Linked DNA regions of Homo sapiens: all the other regions are linked to region 1. Evidence: promoter capture Hi-C in 16 types of primary human blood cells and fetal thymus (Javierre and others, 2016). All regions are on one chromosome and are shown on one strand. Each heading gives the region's core, a stretch centred on a gene start or on the middle of the fragment in contact. The rest is flanking DNA. Distances are from core to core; before and after follow the strand shown.

What was found. The method cuts DNA at HindIII sites, captures the fragments that hold promoters and counts their contacts. A CHiCAGO score of 5 or more calls a contact.
Region 2: a contact is called between a fragment that was not itself captured here and the fragment with the promoter of PCK1 in region 1, in 1 of 17 cell types (endothelial precursors). The highest score is 5.9, in endothelial precursors.
Region 3: a fragment that was not itself captured here is called in contact with the fragment with the promoter of PCK1 in region 1 in 5 of 17 cell types (endothelial precursors, total B cells, M1 macrophages and 2 more); the score reaches 6.9 in endothelial precursors.
Region 4: a contact is called between a fragment that was not itself captured here and the fragment with the promoter of PCK1 in region 1, in 6 of 17 cell types (M1 macrophages, endothelial precursors, naive CD8 T cells and 3 more). The highest score is 7.3, in M1 macrophages.
Region 5: a contact is called between a fragment that was not itself captured here and the fragment with the promoter of PCK1 in region 1, in 6 of 17 cell types (M2 macrophages, endothelial precursors, naive B cells and 3 more). The highest score is 6.6, in M2 macrophages.
Region 6: a contact is called between a fragment that was not itself captured here and the fragment with the promoter of PCK1 in region 1, in 1 of 17 cell types (M1 macrophages). The highest score is 5.1, in M1 macrophages.
Region 7: a contact is called between a fragment that was not itself captured here and the fragment with the promoter of PCK1 in region 1, in 2 of 17 cell types (M0 macrophages and M1 macrophages). The highest score is 6.0, in M0 macrophages.

What each region holds. Positions count from the first base shown.
Region 1 is chr20:57,558,405-57,562,824 of GRCh38, reverse strand. It overlaps PCK1 (phosphoenolpyruvate carboxykinase 1), which reads right to left and starts at 1,715. Exons shown (of 10, transcript NM_002591.4): 1 at 1,622-1,715; 2 at 1,190-1,453; 3 at 573-754; 4 at 1-129. The coding sequence starts at 1,413. The HindIII fragment of the contact is 6,047 bases long and covers 1,011-4,420 here.
Region 2 is chr20:58,190,577-58,194,996 of GRCh38, reverse strand. No RefSeq gene overlaps it. Among named protein-coding and RNA genes, the nearest start is that of ANKRD60, 36 kb to the left of the region's middle. The HindIII fragment of the contact is 5,377 bases long and covers 1-4,420 here.
Region 3 is chr20:58,170,380-58,174,799 of GRCh38, reverse strand. The region is part of intron 2 of LOC105372694 (a long non-coding RNA gene); the gene reads left to right. Among named protein-coding and RNA genes, the nearest start is that of CIMIP1, 22 kb to the right of the region's middle. The HindIII fragment of the contact is 264 bases long and covers 1,918-2,181 here.
Region 4 is chr20:58,153,468-58,157,887 of GRCh38, reverse strand. It overlaps CIMIP1 (ciliary microtubule inner protein 1), which reads right to left. Exons shown (of 4, transcript NM_178456.3): 2 at 4,263-4,344; 3 at 2,319-2,420. LOC107985434 (a long non-coding RNA gene) reads left to right here. Exons shown (of 3, transcript XR_001754692.2): 2 at 1,059-1,190. Among named protein-coding and RNA genes, the nearest start is that of CIMIP1, 4.8 kb to the right of the region's middle. The HindIII fragment of the contact is 2,611 bases long and covers 565-3,175 here.
Region 5 is chr20:58,132,292-58,136,711 of GRCh38, reverse strand. LOC107987284 (a long non-coding RNA gene) reads right to left here. Exons shown (of 3, transcript XR_001754693.2): 3 at 2,885-4,420. All of the region lies in intron 2 of LOC107985434 (a long non-coding RNA gene), which reads left to right. Among named protein-coding and RNA genes, the nearest start is that of CIMIP1, 16 kb to the left of the region's middle. The HindIII fragment of the contact is 2,899 bases long and covers 473-3,371 here.
Region 6 is chr20:58,105,125-58,109,544 of GRCh38, reverse strand. No RefSeq gene overlaps it. Among named protein-coding and RNA genes, the nearest start is that of CIMIP1, 44 kb to the left of the region's middle. The HindIII fragment of the contact is 397 bases long and covers 2,267-2,663 here.
Region 7 is chr20:58,087,811-58,092,230 of GRCh38, reverse strand. No RefSeq gene overlaps it. Among named protein-coding and RNA genes, the nearest start is that of CIMIP1, 61 kb to the left of the region's middle. The HindIII fragment of the contact is 3,126 bases long and covers 528-3,653 here.

The sequences.
Region 1 (4,420 bases), core at 466-2,965:
GCGTGCCCATCCGCGTCATGATCCGCATGCTGGCCACCACGTAGGGTGAATCCGTCAGCTCGATGCCGATCTTTGACAGAGGCGAGCCCAGCGGCCCCATGCTGAATGGGATGACGTACATGGTGCGACCTACAGGGTGCGATGGGTGGGCACTGGTGAGAAATGACCTTGGACTTCGAACACGACCAGCATTTTTTTCCCAGGTAGACCCATTTTCACGGTGTTCCACTAACACCACCACACCCTGCTGGTCACCAGCCCCCTGGGTTAGAAGAGGCCACTGGAAAGTGAACAGCCTGCTGAAATTAAAGAGTTTTCATAAATGTGCAATTGGGTCCCACCAAGCTATTTAAAACCCATATGCATGGAACTAGTTTTCACGTTTGTATAAGACAGTCTGTAAAAGCAGAAGAGGGATGTGCATTTTCAATACATTGCCAACTTCATGTATGGAACTGAAAGACATCTGAGGTGGTGGGAGCTTCCATTATTGTTTGAATTACCATTAGGATAGATGTAAATAAGAAAAGGCTCTCTGCTGTTTTACCCAATCAAATCAATGTTCCGCTCACCTTTCATGCACCCTGGGAACCTGGCATTGAACGCTTTCTCAAAATCCTCCTCTGACATCCAGCGACCGAGCTGGCTGAGGCCTGTTTTGGGGATGGGCACTGTGTCTCTTTGCTCTTGGGTGACGATAACCGTCTTGCTTTCGATCCTGGCCACATCCCTGGGGTCAGTGAGAGCCAACCAGCTGCAAAAATCACAGGCTTCCTTTCAGCCAAGCACCACGGGCAGCGAACCATCTCCTTCAGTACCGTGGCTTTCCATGCCTAGCAGAGTGCTGAGCACGCTAACAACAGTCCATCAGTGTGAACACACAGACCATCTAAGACATGGCCAGGTGGACATTTACTCCACTAGGACCTGGTCTGTAGGAGAGGGGCTGCCTTTTTTTTAATCAGGAATCTAGTTGGCAGAGCTTTTGTGCACACACCTCATTTAAAGCTTGGGCTGGCCCACTAATGTCACAAAATTCAAGTCTGTATGGTTCTGACCATTGCATTCATCTTCTCAAGAGTCTGAAACTACCCGAAGGCCTTCATTCACCTTTCTCCACCAACTCCCAGGAGACGCAGGGGAGCCCTGCCTGCAGGGTGCTGGGACAGGCAGCGGGGGCCGAGCTTACCAGTTGTCATACTTCTTCAGCCGCCTGAGGATGCCCTCTTCCTCCATCTGGCCCAGAAGCCGCCCATTCTCCTCCTCAGAGCCGTCACAGATGTGGATGTGATCAGGCTGACACAGCTCAGCGTTATTCTCGAGAAACTCCCTCACTGCCTGGGGTAGGCTGTCCAGGCTTCCCTGGACAACTTTGGCCGAGAGGTTCAGGCCGTTTTGCAGCTGAGGAGGCATTTCTGCAGAGTGCTGCTAAGGGGCACGAATGTGAGGTCACCTGAAATAGAAAACGCAAGCGTCCTGAACAAAAACAACAACAGACACCTTCAAACACATTCGACGGCCTTTTGCCAGGGCTGTGCATTGCCAAATAGTTATTGCTCTCAGGAAAAAAATGAGTTCATCTTTGTAATTTTTCAAAATGTAAATGCAAAGCTCTACTTACCTTTCTTCTCTTTGGATGATCTCGAAGGGAGATCCACAGGTTTCTTTCCGGGCTCTTCCCGCCAGCAAGTTTGTGTTCCCAGTGGGAAGGCCGTGCTTGGTGGCAGAACCTCCCAGCTTTAAATACTGTGGAAAAGAATAGCCCTGCCCCTCAGCTGCACCCAGGGAGGCTCGCCACTGACGTCAGGGGGCAGGTCTCTGGATCACGGCCAGGGTCAGTTATGCTTTGGGCCAACTCACTGCAACACGCCCCAGGGAGATAATCATTGAACAGATAGTTGTTAATGAATGCTGGGAGACTTCGAGCCCTCAACCAACCATAGTGAGTTTTGACACAACTTCCAACTGACTAAACCTTGACCCATTTTACTGCTGTTGCAAAACACAACACCCTTTTCTTAACAGGCAGGTGGGTCAAGGACAAGGTTGGCCGGGGCACCTGCTAGCAGCACATTTTGTGTACCAAGAGCTGCTGGTTGGCAAAACACCACAGCTATAAGATGTCACCCCATAGTCAAAGGTCACAGTCAAAGTTCATGGGAAGGATGCACCCTAACTTGGGCAAATATGTGGCTTATTGGCAAAGATTGGAAATGCCTAACCTAACTGGGGGCTAATCACTGTATTGATTGTCTGCTCTGTGCCGCCCCCGCCCCCTGCCCCGATGTAAACTCCATGAGGGCAGGGATTTCTCCCTATTTTGTTCATTTTTCTCTCTGTAGTGCTTGGCATAGAGTAGGCACAGGATGCACACATGCTGAGCACTGTTCTAAGAGCTTGGCATCATTACTACCCTCTGAGGTGGAGGCTATGAACAACCCATGTACAGATAGGGAAACTGAGGCAGAGATTGTGTAGCCACTCACAGCCGGCTGGTGGGTTGCAGAGTGAGGATCTGAACATGAGCAAGTTGGGCCCTGGAGCACCACGTCTCTCCCTGTGAGGTACCGCCACCTTTCCAGAACCTTCCCTGTGTCCTCCAGGGAGTTCTGGGCTGAGTGCAGTTACTCCTGCAGTCCACTGGCCACTGTTCTCTTCCCTGGCAAGTCTTAGAGTTTAGGGAGTGGAGGGGGCTTGGCAGTTTTGCTAGATTATATGCTTAAGCAATGAAACCTTTATAACAGTTGTAAAGAATTTGCTTTGCAAGCCATCAGACCTTCAGTCAAATTTAATGAGCTATGGAAGCTGCTTGCTGGAGTTTGGAGAACACAGGGTGAAATGTCAAAAGAACGGGGCTAGGTCTCAACCCCCCACAGCCAGCCCACACTTCCATGGAAGCCTCTCTACCTAAGATGAGGTCAGGTGGGGACTTGGCCCATCTCCCCGCTGGGGTGTGGGATGATCCCTGAGATAATCCCAGGACTGGGCTTAGAAAGAGCTGCTGTGGCAAATACAAGTCACTGTGAATGGCAGCCTCCGACCAAACTCACTTAGAGAACCCTCCTGGGGGCTTGGGTCACACTGTGTTGGGCGTGGGTCACACATCATCAAGTTCCACCAAAATTATCAACCCATTGCTATGTTTCCTGTATTCAGATTTTATTCAGCCAGTTGTGTCTTTCAGGATAAATATGATATGAGGTGCTTTTTGTTTCATTTGAAGTTATTCCCCGTTTAGGTCACTGGCATTTGTTATTAGTGGTGCTGTCATCCATACATAAGATCGTGTTGTGTCTAAACCCAACAGTGACGTGATGCTCAGTAGCCGAGGCCACTTCGTTAGCATCTGACATCAGTGAATTAGCCATCCCGATGCATGACCACAATTCCGTGACACACACATCACTCCCGGCGAGACTCATCCCACCAAATTGGTAGAAAGTCCCATTTTGCTGATAAAACGGTAACAGGTTTGAGTACCTGAAAGAGCACATAGATTGAAAACAAAAAGGGAAAGCAGAACTCATTTGGAGTCCTAAATGCGACCCATCCATTCCAGGTGCTTATGTTCTGAGTCTTCTGGGAGAGAAACAGCTAGTTCAAGTAAAACGTCAGAGCAGTGAGTCACCAACGACCTTCATCCGATCCTTTCATTACCTGCATTTACAGCGTGGAAGGACGGTAATGATTCCCCCGCAACTGTCCCTTGTCAAAATGTTAAAAAGCAAACATTGGTTTACAGACTTGCCTCAAAGGACAGAGTTCTCTGGAAGAAGAATCATGATAAAGTAGAGGGGTTTTGAGGACACACAGGCAAAAGTATGGGTACAGTTGCCTTAGGTCTTGGCAGATGATGCCCTCGGGCCCCCATTTTTCCTGTCCTTAGAGACTCCCTGCCCCAGTGGGGACTCATTGACAACAATTTCAAGGGGCTGGCCGGAAGCATGGGTCTTCCTCATCTGACTGTCAGCTTATTTGTAAGTAAGCCTCAAAACTAACTACTGTCTGTTGGTTTCAACAGGGACCCGAAGAAGCAGCCAAACAGCCACCCTGCTGGTGGGATCCCTGAGGACCCCCAGTTAACCCGCCGAGTGGACTTTGCAGTGTGTGCTCAGTGGGTGGGGCATGGAGGTGGCTCACGCTGCCTGTGAGTTGCGTTAGTTGTTTCTGGGACGGATGCCATAGAGACCTCCTAGCTTTTGGGGAGCTCCTTAGGCTCAGATTTTCTTAGGTCCAAGGCTGCTCTTCTTTTGAAAAATGTATAAAAAGTTGAGCCCAGATACAAAATTGGGGAAAGAAGGAGAAAGAAAGATCGGACACTAAAATAGTTTCAAACTAAAAGGGACTTCCTCCCTGCACCTTCCTGGGGCCACTCCATGTTTTGCAGTTACTCAGGGATATCGATTGCTTTTTCCCTGCT
Region 2 (4,420 bases), core at 1,227-3,726, 630 kb before region 1:
TTAATTTTTAAAGTCACATTAGTGGATTCTTTGTTATTTCTAGCCAAGAGCTTCCTAACTGATACAGTCCATACCTTTCCAGGCTGTTTTCTGTCTGTCTGTCTGTCTGTCTGTCTCTCTGTCTATCTATCTATCTAAATGAGATTATACTATACATTCTATGCTACAATTTTTATGGTGCACATCTTTTTACATGAATATTCTTTAAAAAAATTGTTTTCAACAATTTTATTGTGCACACAAACTATAATTAATTTAACCAGCTGCTGACTAATTATTTGGCCATTTCCAAATGTTTTGGTATTGGGATGAACAGAGTGTTGCACTGCTGTGTTCTGTAGGGAATCAGCCAGATGAACGTGAGGCTCTGGAGACAGGCCTGGGCTAGAGGCACAGCTGGGGAGTCACCATCACGGGTCTGGAGGAGATGGCTGGCTCCAGCAATCTGTCTTCTCCCTGTGTCCACACCCTTTGGTAACTCTGCCGTTTTCTCCCATGGACAGAGTGGTGTATATTTTCCAGCTTCTTGACTTTAGGTTTTGCCATGTGACTTACTTTGGCCCCTAGACCAAGGCAGAAAAGATAATGTGTCTGTTCCAAACCTAGGCCTTAAGGAGTCATGTGACTTGGGTTTTGGCATGTGACATGCTTTGGCCTCTAGAACAAGGCAGGAAAGATAATCTCCTGTTCCAAGCCTAGGCCTTAAGGAGCCGCCCACATTTCCACTCCTCCTGTTGTGGTTTTGCCATTGCCATGAGAAGAACCCGCCCCAGCTCTTCCGCTAGTCCAAGGAGGAGGTTGAGAGGCACACGGAGCTGACTGCCCTAGCCAGCCTCACTGTGAGCAGCTGACCCTCAGTGACCCATAAGTGCACAAACTACAGATGTGCTTGCAGTTGTCTGCCACCGAGACCCTGCAGTTTGTTAGGCAGCATGAGATGGCAGTAGCTGACTGATACAATGACCCAAGGAAGGGAGCACAACAAGGAGAGAAAAGGGCCTGCAATGGAGTCCAGAGAACTCCAGGATTTTAAGCAAAAGCAATTGAGAATTGGCCATTTCCAAGCCTAACTTAGGAAGCAGTTCAGCAGTACACAAAGAAGGAGTCCAGGAGGGTTCTTTGGAGGAAGGGGCCGTTACTGGATGGGAAGAATCTGGCCAGGTAGAGATGGGAAGGGAGGGGCTCCAGGTATGTGTGTAGCATGCCTGGAGCGTGGAGAGGGGCTGGCTCTGCACACTGCACTGGGACTAAGTTCTTTCCCCTCTGGACTTGTCCCCGAGGTGGGGACGCATCTCTGCTTCTGCTCTGCTTAGAGGACAGGGTGCTCACAGACTCAGGTAGGGTGCTCGAGGGCCCCCAGGCCAGCAAAGGAATCTAATTCCTGGCTTTGTGTCTGACTGTAACCCAGCAGAGGCTAGTGGCCTGGTGGTGGGAGGCCCAGTCTCTGAAATTCAGAGCCTGGCTGGGAACCCTGTCCCACGTCTCACAGGAGCAGGGTGTGTCCGCAGACAGTGACTGGGCTAGGACATGCCTTGCTTTTCCTTGCCATACCCCCTTCCTCTGGGGACATCTTGGGCAGACTCCGAGGTCTCCAGTCACACTCAGTTGTGAAGACATCTATGTGACTGGAACTCAAAACGTAAAGCTCACGTCCAGCTCACAGCTTCTGGGAGAGGGTCCCCAGACCAGGCCAACTGGATGCCAGGGTCCTGCCATTGGGATGATGGCCTGTCTTCCACCCTCCTTGCTCTGCTACCTTCTCCGCCTGTGCTCCTGGTCTGGCAGGGTCAGGGCTGGACAGGGGTGAGAAGGAGCGGGGCCAAGGTCTTTTCATGTGGCTGGCGGCATGTGTGGCTCTCCTTCGGCTGTTGAGCGCCTTCTGCCCCCTCGGGCATGGAATGCTGTTCCTGCATGGGGAACACTCATGGGGTTTCTTTGAACCCCCACTCCCAACCTCATTCCTTTCTAGGTCCAGTTTTATTCCCCCTCTGCAAGGAAGAATTATGAATGTCACTGATGGGACCTGCACTTTGCACTTTTTGCACCAACCTTTGGGTACAAATAGGGCCACATTGATAGCCTAGATGTCACCCAGTCTTGTCCTGGTCATTTACTTTCCCGGGATCCCAGAAAAGCCCCCATGTCCTCTCCACCCCAGGCATTTCTAGCGGGGGTCACACAAGTGCTCATAAATGGGTCTGTTGGCCACCACTGCCCTCTGCTGGTGTCCCTGGGCACTGCTGCAGCGGCCCCATCCCTGGGTTGCAGGTGAGGGGTGAACAAGACCCCAACTTCCCCGTGATGCTGTCAGGGTCTCCAGCAGGGCCGACTGCTGACTCTTACAGATTGCTTAGGAAGGGTGCCATTTCCCATGTGACCTGCTCTCTTGGATACAGACATGACTTTTTCCTCATTAATGATGAGGGTGACTTCTAGCGCCATGACCAGCTTGGAGCTAAAACCTTCACTCACATCCATCTTCACTGAGTGCTCACACACCTGTGAGGGGGACCGCCATCTCCACACTTTACAGGAAGAGACCCTGAGGCTCACGGGAGCTCAGGGGAGCTAGAATTTGAATCCGATTTGTCCAATGCATCCAGATATGGCTGAATCGTGGTTGGGTGCCAGGGTGTGTTTCTGCATGTGTCTCTGTGCATATCTCCGTGTGTTAATGCATGCATGCATGTGAGTCTGGGTGCATGCATGTCTGTGTGTGCCGGGATGTGCTTCTGGGCATGTGTGCGTGTTTATGTGTGCATGTGTCTGCGTGCGCGTGTGCATATCCTCTTTCACCCACAGAGTGGTATCAGTGAAGACTTTTGAACTCAAAAAAGAAAATCCTACAAAGCAAAACTGAGGAATGAAGGAGCTGTTGTAGGATCTCATGGTCACTTTCTGGGCGAAGGTCCCCTGAGTTCTGCAGTTGGGATTGGGATCCTCTTTGCACACTCCCCTGAAGACCCCAGCTTCTCCTTTGTGGCACCTGTCACTCCTGTCTCTGACTGACACTCTGTGCAATTATTTGTCTAGTGACTGTGACCTCTGCTCGGTTCTGCTGGCTGTGGATCAGGGACTGTGTCTTTCTTGTCCGAGTGAGTGAATGACTGACAGAAATTCTCTGTATCACTCAGGACATCTCTGGGTGTAACTGACAGAAAATCAGCTCAAACTGGCTTAAGTGCAAAGAGGGCATTGCTGGCTCAAGACACTGAAAAGTTCATGGTCCCCTGGGTTTAGGGGCTCCAGGGAGTCAGATGATAGAATCAGGTTGTTCTCTCTCTTTCTCTCTTATCTCCACTGTCTCTGCATTTATCTGTGTCTTCCTCTTTTCCTGCAGACAGGTCCTTCCATGTGTCAGGGAACAATGGAGGCAGGAGCTCTAGCTTATGTGGTCTTCATAGCTTAAGACCCCAGAGAGAAGGAGAAAGTCTCTCCTGGCATCAAATCTCAGCGAAGTCCCTGATTAGCCAGTTTGGGTCACATGCACATCTTAGAACCAATCCCTGTGGCTCTGTAGGATGGAGGGTTTTTTTTTTTTTTTTTTTTTTTTTTGAGACGGAGTCTCGCTCTGTCTCCCAGGCTGGAGTGCAGTGGTGCGATCTCGGCTCACTGCAAGCTCCGCCTCCCGGGTTCACGCCATTCTCCTGCCTCAGCCTCCCGTGTAGCTGGGACTACAGTCGCCCGCCACCTCGCCCGGCGAATTTTTTATATTTTTAGTACAGACGGGGTTTCACCGTGTTAGCCAGGATGGTCTCGATCTCCTGACCTCGCGATCCGCCCGCCTCGGCCTCCCAAAGTGCTGGGATTACAGGCGTGAGCCACCGCGCCCGGCCAGGATGGAGGATTCTAACTGACCAGACTGGTTCTTGGCACGTGCATGTGTTGGGGGTGGAGTCCTATGACTGACACATGATTGCAGGAGTGGGGCTGACTGGAGTTGGAAAGGTGGTTTTCTGAAGGAAAGTATTGAGCAGAAAGCATGTGTATTTCTTCTCATTACATTATTTTAGAATTAAAAAGGCAACAACATCTTTTTCTTTTCCTAGATTGACCTAGTTTGGAAACCAAATTTAATGTGTAGCTTTTATCTAACTTTGAGAACATTTGGTAGTATATGGAACTTGAAACAAAGCAAAATAAACAAAAAGGTAGAATTTGACAGTAATTTTGTAGTCACTGCATTTTAGCTTTTAGCTGTCCATGCACTAAATGAGTATATGTCATTAAATCAAAGTGTGGCCCCCACATGGGCTTTCTCTGCCATTAAGACCTGAGAGGTTCCTGGAACACATTACCCCACATATCGTTTTCGGGAGAGTAAATGGACAAGATCCTTTTCTCAGTGGGCTGGGGAATGAGAAAGGTATGACTGGTCATTAAAAGCCTTAGTCCAAGGATTTTTTTTTTCCATTAACAC
Region 3 (4,420 bases), core at 800-3,299, 610 kb before region 1:
ATTCTAAGCCTGAGAACAGCTTTGGTCTGGGCTGATGACGTTCCCATCCTCCATTTTCTTTCTCCTGAAAGAAAGGAAGGAGCTTTGTGGTTTCGAACTCTCCTCTCCTCGTGCTGCGAAGGTACAGTGACAAGCTGCACTCACACCCGCTTTAGGAGCTTGGTCTCCAGATGTGCTGGGGTAATTTCTGTTTGCATAAAAAAAGTTATAATAAGCCTTTGAGACCCACGTCTGTACAACATCCCACAAACTCAACTCTCGGGTGTCTTGCAACCTGAAGCCAAGGCCTGGGCCTCTATTTCAAAGGCTTGGCAGGAAATTCAATGTATCTGATGGATTTATGCATTTATTATTTCTTTAAAAACTTCTCTAAAGCCGAAGTAATACAGGACAGTGCATGCGCGATTGTGCAGCCCCAGGAGCGTTCACAAACTGAACACATCTGTGCCGCCGGCATCCAGATTCAGAAACAGGAAGTGACCAGCACAACCCCCTTCATGCCCCTCCCAACCACCACCGCACAACGACCCCACCATCCTGGCTTCTGTAGCATTGATCAGATTTGTCTGTTTCTGCACTTTATATAAATGGAATCATACAGCCTGTTCTCTTTCGTGTCTGGCCCAACATTCTGCAGATTTATTTTTATCTCTGATCCCACCAGAGCAGTTTTCCCGAGGCTGGGAGAGATAAGCAGGTCTCCCGGGTGGGGACCGCCGGTGGAGTGACGACCAGGTGACCCGATGGGCACCGTGGATGATGGAGATCTACCGCGGCAAACCGGTGCCTCAAGGGCCTGTCCTGGCCCTGCACTGTGTTGAATTTCACCCGTGCAGTGGGTAAAATATATTCCAATATGTGTATCAGAAATTGGGAAAAATATGTAAAAGAATAATTTCACGCACATCACCCAGAGTTGACAACAGTCATGTTTTTTGAGGTGAAATTAACATGACATAAAATGAACCGTTTTAAAGTGCACGATTCAGGGTCCTTTAGCACTTTCACCATGTTATACAGCCATCGCCTCTATCTCTGCGTCTAGCTCCTGTTCGCTGCCCAGCCCCTGACAACGGTGAATCTGCTTTCTGTTCCTAAGGGTTGATTCCTTCTGGATTTGTATCAACTGGACCATGCAATAGGTGACCTTTTGTGTTTTCTGGCCTCTTTTCCGAGCTTATCCACGTTGTAGCGTGTATCACGACTTCATTCCTTTTAGTGGCTTCCAGTCATTTTTGCTTCGTGTCATTTTTTTTAGAAAAATAAAGAAATGAAACATTACTGGTAAACTCGATGAGTCTGCTGTTCTATAGGGTCACTTCTGTTCCCCAGCTTCATCTCTGGGGGAAACAACAGTCATGAAATTTGTCCTTCAGAGTGTTTTTTTTGTTTCTTAAATTGGGAATTATATGACAAGATGAGAATGTGTTTCCATCTTCTTTGGGCAAATCAGAAGGTCAGACTGTACTGGAGCCCCGCCCCACGGCAGCCATTGGCTGCAGCTTCCTGGCCCCGCCTCTCAGGTGGGCTTGAGTTCTGCCCACGGTCCTGGCCCCACGGCCCCACGGCCCCACGCGGCCCAATTCACTTGTCTGCCGCTTCCTTCCCAGCCTCTGAGTTTTAATCCCTAAAGGATTTCACAGTCCAGGGCTCCCCAAACACTTGTCTGTGCCCCACAGCAGCCTCTGCTGAAGTTTCCTCTTTTTGCAGATATATGAAGAAAATAAAGTCATCACGTCTTTTCCATCAAGATCTGATTTAAGGGTGAGCCTCTATTCTGAGATACCATTTCCCTACCTTCTCAGTTAAAAATGTTCTTTTTTTTTTTCTTTTCCATTTTTTTTTTTTTTTTGAGACAGAGTCTTGCTCTGTTGCCCAGGCTGGAGTGCAGTGGCGTGATCCAGGCACACTGAAGCTTCTGCCCCCTGGGTTGAAGCAATTCTCCAGCCTCAGCTTCCCGAGTAGCTGAAATTACAGGTGCACACCACCACGCCCAGCTAATTTTTGTATTTTTAGTAGAGACAGGATTTCGTCATGTTGTTCAGGAGAGCTCAAACGATCCACCCCCCTTGGCCCCCCAAAGTGTTGGGATTACAGGCGTGAGCCCACCTTGCGCGGCCCAAATGTTCTTTTATGAGATAATTGTGACAGTGAATGAATGAGCCTAGGGGTGCTCAAGCTTTTTCTGTAAAGGCCCAAAGTAAATATTTTCAGTTTTACAGGACCCGAAGTATCTGTTGCAACTACTCAGCACTGTTGTAGCGCCAATGGTAGCCACAGACAATATATACAACAAGCAACAGGCTGTGTGCTGGTAAACCCTAATTTACAAAGAGGTTTTGGGCCGACTGTGGCCGTTGGGCCATCGTTTGTCCGCTGTTGATCTAATAGATGGTAGTGGTGGATATATACTTTTAAGTGTTCTTTACTGGCAAAACCCAAAATTTAGCAATGGTAGAAGTTACTTGTCCCTGTGGTAGATATTACGAGTGCTGATGAAGATTTCCTGTCCCCTTGAAGTTAGGCAAGGTCAGGTGACTTGCTCTGGGCTATGAGATATGAGTAGAAACAACACGTCACCTCCAGGCTGAAGCATTTCCAGGCTGGTGTGCACTGCAAACAACAACAACATCCACCATGGCCCACACAGTCTGCCATCACGGCTGTCTCTACCAGAGGTGTGCATCACAGTGTCACAATGCCTGTTCTTTCACAGAGATGATGGTGCTGGAGGTGGGTGAAGCAGAGAGTTATGCTGAAGGATGGTTGGGGAGGTGGGTGGGGCAGAGGGAGCCGAGACTTGTGCATGGGCTGGGTGGTGAATGAATGCTCTGGTCACTGACTTGCCTGTGAATGTGATGAGGAGCAGAGGTGTGTTGGAGTCGGTGTGGGGGTGGATGGGGCGGGGAGATGCCTGCTGGAATCGAGAGTTTCATTTTTGACATGTCAGGTCTGAGATGCCTTTTAGAGATCCAAGTGGAGAAGTCACAAAAGCAGTTGAAAATATGAGTTTATTTCAGAAATTATCAATTGGAGGCTGCTGGCTTATTGGGTTTAACTTGCATAGTATTTGTTTATTTATTAAATACTATTTATTTATTGAGACAAGGCCTTGCTCTGTTGCCCAGGCACGTGCAGTCGCACGATCATAGTTCACTGTAGCCTCGACCTCCCTGGGCTCAGGCGATCCTCCCACTTCAGCCTCCCAAGCAGCTGGGATTACAGGTATGCACCACCACACCCTGCTATTTTTTTGGTATTTTTTGTGGAGATGGGGTTTCACTGTGTTGCCCAGGCTGGTCTCAAACTCCTGGGTTCAACTGATCCTCCCGCCTCAGCCTCCCAAAATGTTAGGATTACCGGCATGAGCCACGGCGCCCGGCTTACTAATAATTAAAAACATTAAACATTTAAAAGACATTTTAAAATCGGGAGATTTTACATTTATAAAGTCCAAATTGTTCGGCTTCCTTTGGAAGCTGGAAAGATCTGGCTGTGCTGTCCCCTGCTTCCCCAGGCAGTGACCCGTGGCGCTGAGGGGCAGCTGCCCTCTCAACAGGACATGGGTTCTACAGACGCCATTGTCTCTGCCATGCCCTTCAGGATCCTTGATCGTGAATTTACGTGTCTGTTACCATTTATTGTTTTGTTCAGGATTCAGCTTTCCTTGTAGTAGAGAGAAATCTTGACTCCTTCTCCACACCCATGTCTCCACTGAATGCTGGAATAAAACAGTGCAAGAGAGGCATATTTTAAAGAAAGGAGAACGGCATATACTTTTTCTTGCACTTGCTGTGTGTTAGAGGATAACCCCTGCCGTAGCAGCCAGCAGATGAATTTGAACTGCTGCCTGGGAGTGCAGCTGCCACCTGGTCTCTGCACCCCCGAGATCGGGATGGGCCCGGCACCATCTTAGTAGTTCTCTGGCTTTCGTTGGTGCAAGTATTGGAATGTGCTTTGTATTTTTGAATAATTATTTATAAAAATGAGTAGGGAAAACAGGAAATTGCTAAAACCAGAGATGATAAGTAAAGGTGTCTCACACCACTGTTGTCGTAACCACGATGAATGTCATTGTACAACAAGGCGCATCCGTGGCCCATGTGGATGCTCAAGGGAGGCAAATCCAATGGCTTCCTGTTTAGTCTTCAGATTCAGCACCTCTAAAGAACAGGTGTTGAGCTGAAACATGGCACTCACTATTACATCTAAGGCAAGGGGAATGAGGAACTTCGTAAAAATGTTTTCTCTTTATGAGAAGAGAAGCTCCCTAGTGATATATATGGGGATTGCTAAGATTTTAAACACTTAACCTTTGTACATGTTTTTAGGACAGCATTATATTTGAACATTGGAGGTGATTGTAATTTTATCTATCTATATCTATCTATCTATCTATCTATCTATCTATCTATCTATC
Region 4 (4,420 bases), core at 621-3,120, 590 kb before region 1:
AAAATGTCCCACCTACATCCCAGTCTCTCTTCCTCTATTCTCCGGCCAGCCCAGTGTTCTAGGCCACAGGAGAGCGAGCTCCCTAAATGTGTGCATTTCATCTGAACAATCACCTTTGTAGGCACTAATATCAAGAAAATTACGGACTCAGAGCAAATTTCTGTGTCTACAAGGTGTTCCTTGCACGATTATTCTCCCAAATCTCATGCCGGATACAACCTCAATGGCCAGGAATAGGGGGATGGTTAAATAAATTATGACAGATCCACACAGTGGAGAAAAACACAGCCATTAATATAATAGCTATTTAGAGTGCTTTTTTAAACTGCATGGAAAGATGTCCAGGGTATGTTGTTAGGTGGAAAAATGAGATTACAAAGCAGCCTGTGTAGTTTGATTTGTAAACATATACCTAAAAAGTATGTGTGTATGTGCACAAGTGTGTATATACGTATACATGAACATACATTTGAGGAATATTTGAGGGTAACATTTAAAAGCAGGGCTCTGGAATCAGACACACTTGCTGTGTGGCCAGAGAAAGGAATTCAGCTTTTTTAAGCTTCAGCTTTCCCATCTGCAAAATGGGTTTGAGGATGATAATATCCGGGGCTGCAGTGGAAGTAAGATGAGACACCCAATGTAAAGCAGTCACCACGGTGAGCGGCTAAGAGATAATAATAGCTTGAGCTGGTGGGGTGGTTACTCTTACAGGTCAAGGGATGTGTAGGAAAACCTCTGGAAGGAGCACCCCCAAAATGTTAATCATGGGTAAGAGCCTATATGTGGGTTTTAATTATATTATATTTTGGTGTATTTCTAAATATTTTTTAGCAGTGACTCTATATTGCTTTATATTTGGGGTAAAAACTGTCAACATAACTCAGTGGAGCTCATTCATTCATTCATTCATTGGGGCTCACAGATGCATACCCCCCAAATGCTCACTATGTGCCAGCTACCCCATCAGACCACGAGCATGCCAGGCAAAAGGCTGCAGCTGAACTCCTCCTGCCCTGCGGCCTTCATCTTGGGTTTTCATCTGCTCTCCCCATCAGCACGCAGAACCACCTTCTCCATAGCTGGGCAGAGGGCAGAACTCCCAGCCAAAATGACAGACCCATGAGACATATGGAGCTCAACTGTTTCTAGAGGGATCTGAGCCATGTCCGCCGTGGTGCAGGCTTCAGGTGAGAGCATCGTCTAAGGCCTCTTTTCTCTGGGTTTGGCCTGGTCACTCCTGTCCCTCTCCCCACAATCTTTTCTCCACTAGCAATGAGAGCCATCTTTCCAATAGGCAGGTCTTGCCTTTCCATGGCCCTGCTTACAACCCTCCAGCGGCTTCTCTAAATTGGACTCCAATTGCAACTCCTTCTTCTAGCCTGCCCACTTTTCCACTCACATCCCTTCTCCACCCACACCTTCTCCTCCTGCCCCCACCCTCCACCCAAGCTCCTGTCGCATCGCCTTGCCTTGCTGTTCCTGAAACATAGCAGCCTGTGTTCTATCTCAGGGCTTTCATACATGCTGTTCCCTGCGCCTAGAATACTTTTCCTAGGGCTGGTGCCTGGTCATCCTTCAGTCCTCAGCTCAAAGGGCCCCTTCCCTGACCACCCCGCCCTCTCTTATCCTGTGACACACCACCGGCCTGTTTCCTCCATGGTGCTAGCATAGCGTATCCAAATGGTGTTGATTTTCTTGGTTAATGTTGGTTCTCTAGACCCAGACATGTGGGCTGGGGTCTTGCCTTCTTGTTCATTACTGTTTTCCCAACCAAGCTGTTGCACCTTAGTAATAGCTGACTGTCATCGGCACTCTCTAAACATGCTGGGCAGCCTGCTGAACCCTGAGGGTACTCCCTGAAGTAGGTGCTTCATTAACCCCCATTGTATAAGACAGGCAGGGGAGACACAGAGAGGTCAAGCCACTTGCCCAAGACCACACAGAAGGTGAGCAGCCTATCAGCACAGGGATCTGGTGGTCTGATTCCAGAGTCCCTGCCTGGGTCTGCCCTGCCTTCCTGCCCACACCCTGGAAATGTTTGCTGAAAGAACGCATGAAGACCCCATTTTCCTGCCTTCTCTCTGCTTCTGCAGAGCAGGAGGTCATGGTGCTTGCACTTGTAGACTTTAGCCTGGCATGTTTCCCATGGCTGGGTTTGGGAAGGACGTGGACCTGGACTCTGCACCTGGCACTGCTGTGCTCTTACCTTCAGTGCTGGCTTTGCACATCTGGAGCCATCAGTTTCCACTGGGGCTTATTTCTTACTTAGGAAAATGAGTATTTTAAAAAAATGAGTATTTAAAAACGTTTCAAACCTTGATGTACTTCTCCACTGGGGTCACCGGCCGGATGCGGAAACGCTCAGGAAGCTCGATTTTGGGCTTTGGGGTGGGGAGATCTTCTTCACACTTGATCAACTGAAACAGAATCCCCAGAGATGGGAAGTCTTACGTGAAGCTGGGGGAAATGTACTGAAACAGAATCCCCAGAGACGGGAAGCCTCAGGTGAAGCTGGGGGAGTGTCCTCCCCATTGCTTCCCCTAGAAGGCGCATTTTATAGACACAGAAGTGGGGCATGGAAATGGGAGGCAGAGGCTTGTCTTAGTTACACCGTTAGGAAAGTAGGGTGGGGACCTCAACGCAGGCCTGCTGCACCCAAAGCTGAGACCCATCTCCATCCCCTCCTGCTGCTCACCACAGCCTCCTGATTTACATCCCCTGTGGGGGAATTTGAGAAAACGTTACCAGTTACGGACTCAAGTTTTAAAATGCCAAAAAGGGTTGAGTGTGGTGGCTCATGCCTGTAATCCCAACACTTTGGGAGGCCGAGGTGGGAGGATTGCTTGAGCTCAGGAGTTCAAGACCAGCCTGGGCAACTTAGCAAGACTCCATCTCTTCAAAAAATACAAAAATTAGCTGGGCATGATGGCATGTGCCTGTGGTCCCAGCTACTTGGGAGCCAAGGTGACAGGATGGCTTCAGCCTGGAGGTGGATGCTGCAGTGAGCTGAGATCATGCCACTGCACTCCAGCCTGGGTGACAGATCCAGACCCTGTCTCAAACAACAACAAACAAACTAACAAAAAATGCCAAAAAGTTTTCAGGACCGAACTTTAAAATATTAGAGGAGAGCGTCCACTCCCCTTTTTAATTTTTCAAGCAATATCAAGCTTTTTGAAAACCCAATTTAATTACATATAAAGAATATTAATATAGACTCCTTATGCATATTATATTAATAAGAACTCATTCTATGCATAAAATTTCAAACTGTGGAACCCTCTAAGAATTAAAAACACCCTCATTAAGAACAGCATAATTTCAAAGCTCGTAGGATGGGATGAATTACAAATGGGCTTTACACTGCTGTGAATCATAGATACTTTGACTGATGTGGTGTTTTAATTAATTCTGCATCTCTTGTGTTCTGTCCTGAAGTTTGAGAGGTTGCAGATTGGTGGCCACCACCCCACCAGAACCCACATAAGCATTTCATTTCTAGACTCAGAAAATTTCATGTAAACATCTGGCTTTCTGGACTCTCTTGAGTGATGGGAATATGCAGTTGGCTTTCCCATATGGTTTCACTTGGCTGGGCTCATGCTGGCTGCCTCTTTGGACAGGACCAGTGGCCTCTTTGCCTGAGTCTCCACCCCTTCTGATTAATTATGCTTGGCCCTGTCTCCTGTTTCTGTCACCTAGCTGGTCCCTGTAGACTTCTGGACTTGTCATCTTTAGGGAATACCGACAGCATTTTCCCAAGAATCCCTCATATGTCACTTGGCCTCCAGGCCAGGTGAGGTGTCCATAGCCTTCTTGTATCTGCACCTCACAGTCGCTCAGTTAGGCAGGTGAGGACTCTCATCCCACTTTACAGATGGGAAGTCTGAGGTCAGGTGGCTGTGGCATCAGACCCACCTGCTTCTCACCTGAGTAGGGTCCTTATCAGTTGTGTGACTTTGCAGGTCTTGGAGCTCAATTTCCTAATTTGTAAATGGGCATAAAACAACACCTGTCTCTGCACCGGGGTTCTTGTCCAGATTTGATCATCTGGTTCTGCCGAAGCACCTAGAACATGCCTGGCATGTGGTCAGTGCCCAGGAATCTGTGAAAGGCGGGAACCTTCTGGTTTAGGAGTTAGTGATCTTTGCCTACAACATGCTCTTTAGTTTTATTCTTGCAAGTGATAGACTTTGTAATCATTCATTCTTTGAAATGATTGATTCTGTAACCTTGGGGCTCATACAATTTATATTTACCTCCTCAAAAGGGGTTGTTAAAAACCCCCAGTTCTGGGGCCAGTTCTGCCGTGCTTCCGATTCAGCCTTCAGACGGTATTTCCTGAAAAAGAAAGTTCCTGAGTGCTGGGCAACACGGAAAAAGGTTCAAGGGGTCTGTGGGGGACATTTCCATTCTC
Region 5 (4,420 bases), core at 673-3,172, 570 kb before region 1:
TCCTTGCTCCAAATATATTATTTCAGCACAATAGTTTCTTTGCTTAAATGATTCAAAATGGATTTAAAAATATATTTCAAGTTTTAATTTTATGCACAGCACATTAATGAGCGGAGTGCCTTAGAGACTGCCTGTCAGTTCAACATATTCACAATATTCTCAGCACAGATGTTATTCCATCTAAATCCTTTTAGGGGGAAGAAACCAGTACTTTTTTTCTTGGGGGATGTCAGAAAATATATTATTTTTGAAATTATATTTTGATCCCAGAATTCTACACAAAATGTCATTGTTAGGGTCTGGGTTTGTCAAGTGACTTGGACACCAAACTTTTAAAAAGTGGGGGAAGGAAAAAGCAGCCCAGGATGTTGGATTTGTTTCTCGCCGTTGCCTTCTCTGGACGAGGACTTCGCGCTGCAACACACAGGATGAGACATGATGAAAACTTTCCTGAGCTGTGCACTTGGAAGCTTCAACATCTTTTAAACAATGGCAAAAAATTGGAAGGAACTGGGTTGGATACAAAAACATTTAGAAAGAGTGGCTCTCATTTTTTGTTTTGTCTGCTGGAAGACGCAAACTCTCATAGTTAATGCAGCCTTATCCCCTTTGGTTCTCAAATGATGAATCAGGCTCAGTCATTTTTGTGTATGTATTTGCAACACTCACGGCCGGGAGCGCTGAGTTCTTTTGTTTGTAAATACCTACTTGGGAGAGGTGCAGATTCAGAGCCGAGTATTTTCCTCCAGGGTGGGGCCGGCAGTGTATTGCCTTACTCTTGCACTGAGCAGTGAGAAGGGGTTGGAGCCGACAGGTGAGCTCCAAGTGCCCCCGTAAGCTGGGTGGTCATGGGTGAAAGAATTAATCTCTCTGAATAGTTGTCTGTAGAATGGGGGGATGACAGGAGTGCAGGCACAGCACAATGCCTGGGACATGGTCAAAGTCCCGTGAACTTGACCCCTTTTATCTGCGCTGTCAACGTTTTCCTCCCTCTGTCCTTCCTGACAGCGATTTCCCACCTGCAGTCCTGTGCATAGTAGAACGCTCAAAGAGAGAGCTCCACCTCACTTTGTCTGCAAGAATCAGCCAGAGCTGACTCTTATTCAAACTGGCACCACATCCGCGGGGTTCTAGCAAGAATTGCTGGGCTCCTAGCCAGGTAACTGGCTGAGAAGTGCTCACTCTATAGAGCCCCCACCGCCTCCCTGCTGGCTTACCTGAGGGGGCTTGGCAGAGTTGCTGAGCTCAGGGAGGTGGGGCTTCTGGAGTTTGAGACTTGGTCCTCTCCTCCCACTGCCTTCCCTGGCCACCAGTTCAGGGAGGCTGTGAGCAGAAGAGGTCCAAGTGACAGAGGTACCCTCAGCCACTTTCTGTTTCAGATGCTGGCATAGCTTAGCTTTTGATATACAAGAAAGAGACAATTTAAAAGATCCCTCCCTCCCTTTAAAAAAAAGACCTTATTTTTTTAAGAGCAGTTTCAAGTTCACAGCAAAACTGAGTAGAAGGTGCAGAGATTTTCCATAAACCCCCTGCCTCCACACAGGCACGGCCTCCCTCACTATCAACATCCCCCACCAGAGCGGGACACTCGCCTCCCTAATTGTGTTTGTTTTTGTCTTTTGCGCATCTTTTCTTTGTTTTGTGCCTCCTTAGTGTGGCCATAGAGTTGGAACCATACAGTGTGTGCTTTTCAGACTGACTTCTTTCACTTAGTAACATGCCGTCGGTTTCCTCCACATCTTTTCCTATCTCGATAGCTTGTTCCTTTCTTAGTACTGAATAAAATTCCAGTGCCTGGATGTACTACAGTTCATCCATTCACCAACCCAAGGACATCGCGGTGGATTCTAAGTTTTGGCAATTATGATGAAAGCTGCTCTAAACAAATCCTCTGGGTAAATATCAGGGAGCACAATTGCTGTGTGGTATGGAAAGAATATGTGTAACTTTGCAAGAAGCTGTGAAACTGTCTTCCAAAGTGGCTGCACCATTTTGCATTCCCACCAACCAGGGGTGAGAGCTCTCGGTACTCCAATCCTCACCAGCATCTGGTGGTGCCGCCTCCCCCCACTTTTTTTTTTTTTTGGACAAGGAGTTTTTTTTTTTTTTTTTTTAAAGACAGAGTCTCGCTCTGTCGCCCAGGCTGGAGTGTAGTGGCACAATCTCGGCTCACTGCAACCTCCGCCTCCCAGGTTCAAGCAATTCTCTTGCCTCAGCCTCCTGAGTAGCTGGAATTACAGGCGCTCGCCACCACACCCAGCTAATTTTTGTATTTTTAGTAGACACAGGGTTTCGCCATGTTGGCCAGGTTGGTCTCGAACTCCTGACCTCAAGTGATCCACCCGACTTGGCCTCCCAAAGTGCTGGAGTTACAGGCATAAGCCACCACACCTGGCCACCTTTTTAATAATAAAATATTTTATTTTTTAAATTATTGAAATAATGCATACTCAAATAAAAATATAATCTTAGAGTTCCTATGGAAGAAGAGATGCCCTCAGAATAGCTAGGAAATGTGGAAAATGAGAAGAGTGATGGAGGATTTACCTATCCAGGTATTAGTATAGGCTCTAAAGGTCCTGTAACCAAGTCAGTTTTGGTGTCGTGACAGGGACTAGATTAGTGAAGCAGGAAGTGAAGTGGAACTGTCCTTATAACTCAGAAGGTATATACGGAGAGAGCTGATGTTCAAGACAGGAGGATGGATGAACCCTTTGACAAATGGGAGAACATGAAAATGGAACCAATGGTCCATGGATACAGAAATCAACTCTAGAGGAATTAAATACTTACAAGTAACACAATAATCATAATAGTATTGCAAGAAATGTGTGATACTGCAGTTACAATCTAGGGGCCAGGGAGACTGGAAACCCAGAAGCTATAAAGAAAAGATGGATTTTTTATTTTATTTTATGAAGTTGAGAAGTTTTGCCTGCCCAAGAGATCACAAAGGCAATAAACAAAAGGCATTCCAAGAAAAACATTTATAACCAAGAAGTCAGACAAAGGGTTAACTTCTATGCAATACAAAAATTCAAATAATCCAGATGTGTTTAAAGCGAAATGTGAATGTGTTCCCCCTGCCTGCAAGCCCCTTCCCTGGGGGAGATCACTTTTAATGGTTTGATGAATTTCCTTCTGGATGCTTTTTTTCCCCGTCATGCTGCAAAAGGAATTAATTTTAGTTTTCCTCTGAGCTGCAGCGCTGGGAGAGCGGGAGAGCCAAGCTGCCTTTATTTTTATCGATTGCCCTTTTCCCCAAACCTGCCATTTGCATCTCACCTGCCATATCGTGCCATTATTTACTTAATCCTTTCTTTTACATTTACACACTTTTGAAAACATACAGTTATTTTAAAAAGGAAGCTTCAAGTCATGACCATAAGTGAAAAACCAGTGCCATTTGACCTATGTGGAAGGCAATGGTCATAAAAATAATGAAAGCTGATGTTACGAAATTCCAGTTTGGTGCTGTAGCTGCTCACTCTCTCTATTAAAAAGGGTGGTGGCAGCACTGGGGAGGTGCTGAAAATTGACTAGTCCCCACTGGGGACTCTCCTGGGCCAAGCAAAGGACTAAAAAGGAATAGCTCTGTCAGCGTGTGTATCTGTGGTTTTGATGCTACGTGTACCTCACAAATCACCTTGTGACCCCCCAGTTTGGGATGTGCCCTCCTTTCCAAGAACAGTTAATTCGATGGGACTGGATAGAAGGAGAAAAAAGCAGGTCTTCTTTTTTTTTGGAGATGGGGTCTCACTCTGTTACCCAGTCTGGAGTGCAGGGGCATGATCATAGCTCACTGCAGCCTCCACCTCTCTGGTTCAAGCCATTCTCCTGTCTCAGCTTTCCAAGTAGCTGCGACTACAGGCATGACCCACCATACTCAGCTAATTTCAACATTTTTCTTGCTGTGTTACCTAGGCTTGTCTTGAACTCCTGGGCTCAAGCAATCCTCCCTCCTCAGCCTCCCAAGGTGCTGGGATTACAGGCATGAGCCTCTGTGCCTGGCCAAAAGTAGGTCTTCCTGAAGTCAGCACAGTTTAGAAGTCAGTCTTCAATCTTCCAAATACCACAATTTTTCTTTAAATAAACATGCATTCAGAGGAGAACTCAAATGGAAGAAAAACATGCATAATCCTACCAGTAAATTTTCCAAAACTCCTAATGCAGTTTTTTATGACTTGAACTTATCAATATAGTATTTTGAGATGCACTGAAATATTTAGAGAAATTTGGTTGTAACCAATGACAACTAAATACACTTGCCTGTTTTTTCAAAAAAATAAAGGAGTAATAATTTGGTGAAGTTTTCAGAGTGGTTGCCAGTCACTGCTAGGAAAGATGTCGTTAGCTTCTGGCAAGTCAGAAAAGTAGGATGAAGAATCTGATCTTGAAATATCTTCTTTTTTTTTTCTTT
Region 6 (4,420 bases), core at 1,216-3,715, 550 kb before region 1:
TGGGTCCTGAGCAAGTTCAAAATCTAGCAAGGCAAGCTCCATGAGATCTTAAGATCAAGAATAATTCTTTTTGGCTCAATGCTTTGCCTTCTAGACCCACTGGGGTGGTAACAACACCATCCCTACCAGCTTGGTGGGGTGCTTCCCATGCTGTGGCTCCCAGGAGGGGCCCCCTCTTGCTTCAGCTCTCTGTTGGGGTTGGGGGATCCTGCTGGGCCACTATGGCTTCACTGGGTGTTGGTTCCACTCTTTGCAATCGAGATGGAGGCAGACCTCTCCACCTTTGCAAACGAGGTGGAGGCCATGCACTCTGGGCCTGTGGTGGGAGTGGCAGCTCTAGTGACCTCTGAATCACCTTTGGGGTCCTTCTTTCCTTGTGTTGAAGAAAGCTGAATGTTCACATCTGAAGAATTCTATGGTCTGGTCCTGTAGGGTCTAAGAAGTCCTATAATCTTCATTTTGTCCTGTTACCTCTTTTCCTTTAGTCCTAGATAGCAGTGCTTCTGCTGGAACAATTCCATCTTTGCTTCTGGCTTTTATTGAGACGGTTGATCAAGCCCATGGTTCATATTTGTACTAATCTTCTTATCAAATAGTCACTGAGCCACATCCTTAGCATTCTGCTCCAAACAAGTTTTCTCATTTTTTTGCAATAGGGATAGGTTGGCAATTTCCCAACCCTTTAAATTCTGGTTCCTTTTTGCCTAATAACTCCATCTTCAAATTATTTCTTCCTTCACACATTTTATTATAAGCAGTCAGGAGGAATAAAGCCACTTCTTTAACAATTTGCTTAGAAATTTTCTTAGCTAAATATCCAATTTCATTGTTCACAAGTTCTACCTTCCACAAAACACTAGAACATGAACACAATTCAGCCACATTCTTTCCCATTTTATAACAAGAATGGTCTCTCCTCCAGTTTCTAATAACATGGTTCTCATTTCCATCTGAGACTTCACCAGAATGCCCTTTGCCATCCATATTTCTCTCAACATTTTACCCACGATTACTTAGGTATTCTCTAAGAAGATGGAAACTCCTCTTATCTTTCTGAGCTCCCATCAGAACCACCTTCGAAATTCCCTTCATGGAATTCTAGGCTTTTTCTAGCATGTACCTCAAAACTTTTCCAGCCTCTACCTATTACCCCGTTGCAAAGCTGTCTGCATTTTCAGATATTTGTTACAGCAACACATTGTTTTTTGGTATTTTTCTGTTCTAATGAGTTTGGGCTGTTATAACTGGGTGGCTTAAACAACATAAATTTATTTCTTATAGTTCAGGAGGCTGGGAAGTCTGAAATCAAAGTGTCAGCAGATTCAGTATCTGGTGAGGGCCTTCTTCCTGGTTTCCAGATGACCGTATTCTCACTGTACTCTAACGTGGTGGAAGAAAGCACAAGGCAGCTCTCTGGGATTCCTTTTATAAGAACACTAATTCCATTCATGAGGGTTCCACCTTCATGACCTAATCACCTCCTGCCTCCTAAAGCCATCACATTAGGGGTTAGGATAAATTGGAAGGGACACAAACATTCCATCCATTGCAGCCCTTGCCTCATGGGACTTGCCAGGTAGCAGGGGCAGGCAGATGCTCTGTAGAGGATGGAGGGATAGGAGAGCTGTTTTTTGAGGAGTGTGGAGTTTACAGGAGAAAGAAAATAGAGTAAGAGTTGAGTTAAGGAGCTGAGAAGAGAAGGCAGGGTAAAGAACAACCCAGATGCAGGGAAGAGTATGTGCCACCACTGTGTGGAGGGAGAGGGCTCAGTCGAAGCTCACTGGAGGCTGTGTGCATGGAGCTGGGCAGGGAGGCCAGGCCAGGAGGCTGAGGGGTCAGCAGGGGCCAGGCAGGCCAGGCTCTTGGGCTGCATTAGGGAAGCCACTGGATGATTCCAAATGGAGGAATCAGGGCTCCAAGGCCATTTTCAGAGATGATTCTGGGGAGATTGAATTGGAAGGGGCTGCAGAAGGGATGAGGGGCCTCTTCACAGCCATGACCAAGCTGACAAGAAGAGGGTAAGTTTCTGGTTTGGGGAAAGTGACATGATTGTCAGAAAACCAAGGGAGAAAACCCATCTACACATAAAGGAAGAAATGGTTTTAATTCATCTCTGGGGCTGGGGATGGGTCCACCCTTCTGAGATAAATTCAGGTACTATTGGTAGGGATAAGGTGGGGTGGGAACAGTGGGAAAGATGGGGGTGTATCAGTCAGGGAGGCTGGGTTATGCTGCAGTAACAAATGGCCCTAAAGCCTCCGAAGCTTAAGACAATGGTGATTGATTTTTTCCTCATATGGGACCATCCGTTGGCAGGGACTCTAACTCATGCCGTGATCCTCCTCTCTCTGTGGCCCAGATGAACAGAGCAGCTGCTCACTGTGGCGGAAGAAAAGAGAAAATAGGACTGGCTTTTATAGCTTCCACCCAGAGGAGACATCCGTCACTTCTGTTCATCTTGGGAAGGCAAGTCATGTGGCCACACCTAGCTGGAAGCCTGTGCCTGGAAGGAGAGTGAGGCAGGATACTCAAGCAGGCTTGGTGGCTTCCACAACTGGGATTGCTACCATCATAATTAGCAATCTGAGGACCACAAATGAGCTCGATGCTAGTTTTTTAGCTTCTGCTTTGGCATTTTGCAGAGCCCCAAATTTTAAGAAGCTTCCCGTTTAGGACGTGCATGCCTTCTGTTTGGCCCTGGCATCTGTTGCCTGTGTACATCATCACTCACGTTTTGTGCTGTTCTGTTTTCCTTGCCTGGCCTCTTACACCCCTGGAAGCTCCTGGGACCCTTGCATATCTTCAGTACCCAGAGAACGAGACCCTCCATTATGGGTTGAATTGTGTCTCTTTCTAAATTCATATGTTGAAGTCCTAACCCCCACTACCTCAGGATGTGCCCTTATTTGGAAATAAAGTTGTACAGATGTAACTAGTTAAGATGAGGTTGCTAGGGTGAGTCGCAATTCAGGATGACTGCTGTCCCGATAAAAAGGGGAAGCTTGAACACAGACAGGTACACAGGGAGAAAGCCATGTGAATACGAAGATGGCAGTCGACGAACCATGGAGAGAGACTGGGAACTGCAGGAAGCAGCCCTGCTGACACCTTGATTTCAGACTTCTGGCCTCCAGAACCATGAGTCAATCCATTTCCATAGTTTAAGCCACCCAATTTGGGACTTGGTTGTGGCAGCCCTAGCAAATTAACACATCCGCCAAGCGAGGGAATAATCTGAGTGGCAGAGAAGCCCTCCAGAGGGGCACTTCTTTCCTTTGCCCTGTGGACTCCAGGCTCTGTGCCTGGCAGCAAATGATACCTAATCACACTGCACTCTAAATCTACAGGGATTCTGTGGTTTCCCCCCGGCTCTCCATTTCTCTTGGCTTATCTCAGTCTCCTGTGCTGCCTCTAGCTTGATTAGCTTTACCCACATGTATTTGGCTTCATTCTTATTTTCTTTAATGTTTTGATAAGTGAGATCTCAAGCTGTGATTTTCTGTCTATGTTCCTAATCCTAATCTCTCTATTTCTTTCACCTCACTATTGTAAGAAATGTCTCCTGATTCAGTGTCCCATGTGAATTTAATTAACATGCTGCTTTTTAAGGAGTGGGTTTTGTTGACAGGGGCAAAGTGAGGTGAGGCAGAAGGGGAGACAGTAGTGTGTCAGTCAGGGAGGTTGGGTTATGCTGCAGTAACAAATATCCCCAAAGTCTTTGAGGCTTAAGTCAACTTTATTAAAATGTTACCCTCCTTGATGGTCCTGTAAATACGTGTTTGCGTGATATCAAAGAATGACAGCCTCACTTGTGGTGAGAGTGCCACTTTGCCAACTTACGCTATCCTTTGCTCTCCATCTCACATTATGGTCTTGGCTACTCTCTCAGTTGAAATTACCAAGAAGAGGGAAGGTCTCAGGTACAGCATGTGCAGAGAAGAATCTTCTCTCTGCTTGAGCTTGGAGCATAATGGTGGCTTGCACAAATCTCTGAACTACATGTTTCAGAGGAGCCATGCTGGGGTTCCCATCTCCTCAAACGAACATGGCAGGCGTAAAAGGAGCAAGGCGGGCAGGATTCAAATGGCTTAGGCAAGCAGAGGGCAGAAGATTGTTGCTTCTTGAGGGTTTCCTTTTACAACAAAAAAAATGAGTAATAAAGTTGAATTTGGGGGCAATTTGATTTGTTAAAATAAATTACTGGAAGTAATTGGATGAAGAAGGGTGCTGTTTTTAATTAGTTTAAGGGCATTGGCTGAGGAAAATCATCTTTCCCTCTCTCTTTTAAACATGGTTCTCCTCTAACTGGCACTGAAATTTTTTTTTTTTTTTTTTTTTGAGACGGAGTCTCACTCTTTCACCCAGGCTGGAGTGCAGTGGCATGATCTTGGCTCATTGCAAGCTCTGCCTCCTGGGTTCA
Region 7 (4,420 bases), core at 841-3,340, 530 kb before region 1:
ATATGGATACGGCCTTTTGGGGCTGCTTTTCACAGTCCTGGGAGTCTGGGGGCTGCTTTTCACACTCCTGGGAGTTTGGGGGCTGTTTTTCACACTGCTGGGCTGCTTTTTACACTCTATGGAACAACGTTGGGACAGGCGAGGCTGGATGAGGCTGAAGCAGCTGTGCCCTGTTGAGAGAAGAGAGGACCATGGTTTTCCCTGATAGCCAGAGCTCCCCAAACACCCCCAGTGTGGGAACATCTCCCCCATCGGCAGGGAGTCCCCTACTCCTCAGAGCTGGTGCTAGCCCTGGTTGGGTATGTTCTGAGGATTCAGCGTCACGATCCCCAAACTCAGCGAATGATTAGAATCACAGGCAGAGAAATTCGAACCCAAAGATTGGATCAGTCCCTCTGGTGCAGCCCAGGGCTCGATCTTTCTCTGAAGCTTCCCAGCCAGCTTTGAGACTTCCTCTTTAGCATAAAATGGATGGTTCTATTAGATTAGAGTTGTCAGAGGTAAAACCCAGGATGCCAAGTTAAGCTTCAATTTCAGATCAACAATTTTTTTTTTAGTATAAGGATGTCCCAAATATTTAGTATACGTATGGCAGATACTCATACTAAAAATATTTGTTTATCTGAAATTTAAATGTAACTGGCATATTGTAGGTTTCTTCTTAAGTCAGATTTCTTGCATGTTTTCCCATGTGAATAGTCATTGACATGTTGAGCATTTATTGAGCACTTTCTGTGTTTCAAGCCACGTTCTAGGCCCTGAGAAAGCAGGTTCGTGGAATCCCTGCCCTGAAAGACCTTACATTCTTGTTGAGGGCAGGGAGTCCAGGAGAAAGCTGACAAAATCAGATAAATTAAAAAACAAGACAACTTCAGCTGGCGAAGGCGTTCACGAGGGGGCTCCTGGGCTGAGTTTTGGAGGAGGCAGAGTAGCTCGTCACGCAAAGCTCTTCCTGGAGAAGTCCAGGCAGAGGGAATAGTGGTCGGAGTGAAGTTGGTGTGTTCCAGGAAGGGAGGGAAAGCCAGGTGGCTGGAGCAGAGCGAGCAGAGGCCATGGTGGCCGCTACAGACTGAACATTTGTGTTCTCACTCTCCAGTTCATTTGCTGACACCTCATCCCCAGTGTGATTGCACTTGGAGGTACAGCCTTGGGAAGTGAGTACCAGAGAGCTGCCTTGCCCCTTCTACCGTGCGTGCACACAGAGAGAAGATGGCCCTTCATGAAGAATCAGGCTCTCAATAGACACTGAACCTGCCGACACCTTGACCTTGGACTTCCAGCCTCCAGAACCGTGAGAAATGTTTCTGTTTTTAAACCACTCAGCCCATGGTTTTGTTGTAGCAGTTTGAATGGACTGAGACAGGAGGGGCAGGAGGGAAGGGAACAAGATCACGTGGGCTCCTGGGTCCTGGGAAGAGGGAGCACAGAGAGGCCCCAGGATTTCCTGTGCCGTGAGAGCCACTGGAGGGCTTCAGGAGGTGACAGGTTTGGATCCGAGTTAGACAAAGTCATGCTGGCTGCAGTGGGGACATCAGTGGGAGGAGAGCAGACAGCCAGAGCTGCCTCTTTAACCGGGTGAGCAAGGCTGGTGAATTGGGCTGGGGTATAAGCCATGGAGCTCCAGAGAAGGGGAAGATTTCGATGGATGTTTTGGGGTAATGTGGGCGGAGTTGACACTGAACTGGATGTATAATAGTGGGGAGGTTAAGGGGGTTCAAGGGTGGTTCAGCCCACTCTTGGGTGGCAGGTACTGGTGCCCATTATGGTGATGGGGCTGGGGAGGGTCAGGTTTGGGACTGGGTTGGGGGCCAAGAATTCTGTATCTCTAGCCAAGGATGGCCCAGTGCAGCAAGGACAGAGACCAGGGCTGATTTGCGAAGGGAGTTGAGGGCATGATACGGAGCACACTGGAGTGCAGTCTGGGAGTTTGGGTGTGATGACACCAGAAGGACACATGGGATTCGGCTGCCCCTCTGGGTATGCTAACCCTACCCCTCTGAAGCATGATAGCAATACAATTCTGCAGCATGGCTCCCTCCAGCTCTAGGAATTTTGCAGCTCCTGTGGCTGGCCAACCACCATGAATTTTTAAAAGTAATAAACTGCCCAGGCATAGTAGCTTACGCCTGTAATCCCAGCACTTTGGGGGGCCAAGGCGGGTGGATAACTTGAGCCCAGGAGTTTGAGACCAGCCTATGCAACATGGTGAAATACTGTCTTTACAAAAAATACAAAAAAATAGCTGGGTGTGGTGCCACACACCTGTAGTCCGAGCTACTTGGGTGGCTGAGAGGTGGGAGGATTGCTTGAGCCCAGGGGGCTGAGGCTACACTGAGCCATGATCATATCACTGCACTCCAGCCTGAGAAACAGAGAGACACCCTGTCTCAAAGATAAATAAATAAGTAAATAAACAAGAACCCTGAACAGAGGGGTGGTAAGTCCTTCAGTGAAGGTAGACAGGAATTCGGGAATCCACCGTTTCCCAGAATTATTTTCTGTGGTCACTGCTATGCTGAGTGTTCTTTCTCTTCTCTTCTCTTTCTCTTTTCTTTTCTCCTTCCCTCCTTCCCTTCCTTCCTTCCTTCCTTCCTTCCTTCCTTCCTTCCTTCCTTCCTTCCTTCCTTCCTTCCTTTCTTTCTTTCTTTCTTTCTTTCCTTCTTTCTTTCTTTCCTTCTTTCCTTTCTTTTTTTCTTGAGATGGAGTCTCACTCTGTTGCCCAGGCTGGAGTGCAGTGGCACCATCTCGGCTCACTGCAACCTCTACCTCCCGGGTTCAAGTGATTCTTCTGCCTCATCCTCCCAAGTAGCTGGGATTACAGGCACTCGCCACCGTGCCTGGCTTATTTTTTTCTATTTTTAGTAGAGGGGAGTTCTGCCATATTGCCTAGTCTGGCCTCCAACTCCTGGCCTCAAGTGATCCACCTGCCTCAGCCTCCCAAAGTGCTGGGATTACAGATGTGAGCCACCGCGCTCGGCCTATGCTGTGTTTCCAATCATGAATCTTGGTGTGGGGGCAGGGATGAGAGCACCATATTTAATTTCCCTGATATCTTCTTTCAGGTTGGTCCAATGCAGGACCTGGGAAGGTAGAAAACGTCTAGGCTGATAGGTTCCCTCTTGATAAGAAGTTTCCTGTTCTTAATGGTCCATCCACTCTCTGAGCAAATAGAGAAGAATGACCTTCTCCTCTGGCTTGGAATTGGTCCTGAGAGGGAAGGGCCATTCTGAGAAAGGTCCCTGAGATGAGACCTGATACTTGAGACCATACGAAGCAAATCCCTGAAGATGTGTTCAGCTGCAGGCTGAGAACCTGAGATGAGACCTGATGCTTAAGGGCCACGCAAAGCAAATCCCTGAAGATGCATTCCACTGCAGGCCCTGGAGAATCCGCCTGCCCTGACTGCCTCACACAGCGAGGCCGTGGATAGGTGGGCTATTGGTTCTGGGCTCGGTTGCCCAGCACATCCTCAGGGATCCGGCCTTTCCTATCTTTTGTTTCACCCTTCTGAGCATATTGGCTTTCCTTCCTCATGCTTGTTGCCTCAGGGTCACATGAGGATGGCCATACCTCCAGGCATCACATCTGAGTTCAAGGTGGAAGAAAGGGGAAGAGCTGTGCTAGGCCCATCACTCCTTTAACAGAAAAAAGCTTTCCCAGAAAAGCTACCATCAGACTTTTATTAGAACTGAGTTACATGGCCACTCCCAGCTGCCAGGGAGGCTGGGAAAGAGGGAAGCAGGATCTCGGATCAGCTTAGACAGATCATGGCCCATGTGGGCCTTTACTACCCGAATCCAGCTTGGAACTTGTTCTCCAAGAAGAAGGAATCTGGATATTGGGCAGGACACTGATAATGTCTCCTCATGCATGGCACTGTCCTTAGTGCTGACCTACCAACCCTCCAGAGAGGACGGGGGTTTGCAGGTGTTACCCTGCCCTTGTAGAACACAACCCGTCTGCACATAAACGCTAGTGGGCCAGTTAGAAAGGATCCAGACCAGCTCCTTCCATGCAGCACCGCGGGTGCACATGAGTCAAATAGGAGCTACACTTAGTCAGTGCTCCCTGGGCATTAAAGTAAGATTTCATTTTCTACTCTGAAGGACCTTATGAGGTGGGCATTATTATTATTTTCATTATGCAAATCAGGATATTCTGGTTTTTCAGAATAACTTCCCCAAGGTCAAATAAATTGTAACAGGCAGAACAAGGATTAGAGTTTGCCCCCCGAGTCTGGGCTCTGAACTGCTCAGTACTGACCTCTCTTCCCAGGGAGATCTGACTGAGATCCAGCCTCCCATCAGAGAGGAGAATGGAGAGCACCATGATTTAGGGCAGTCAAGACATCCCTTGCTTTCTGTAGTCAACGGCAGGTTTCACAACTCACGATAATGAGCTTGCTTGCTTCTGGGGTTAC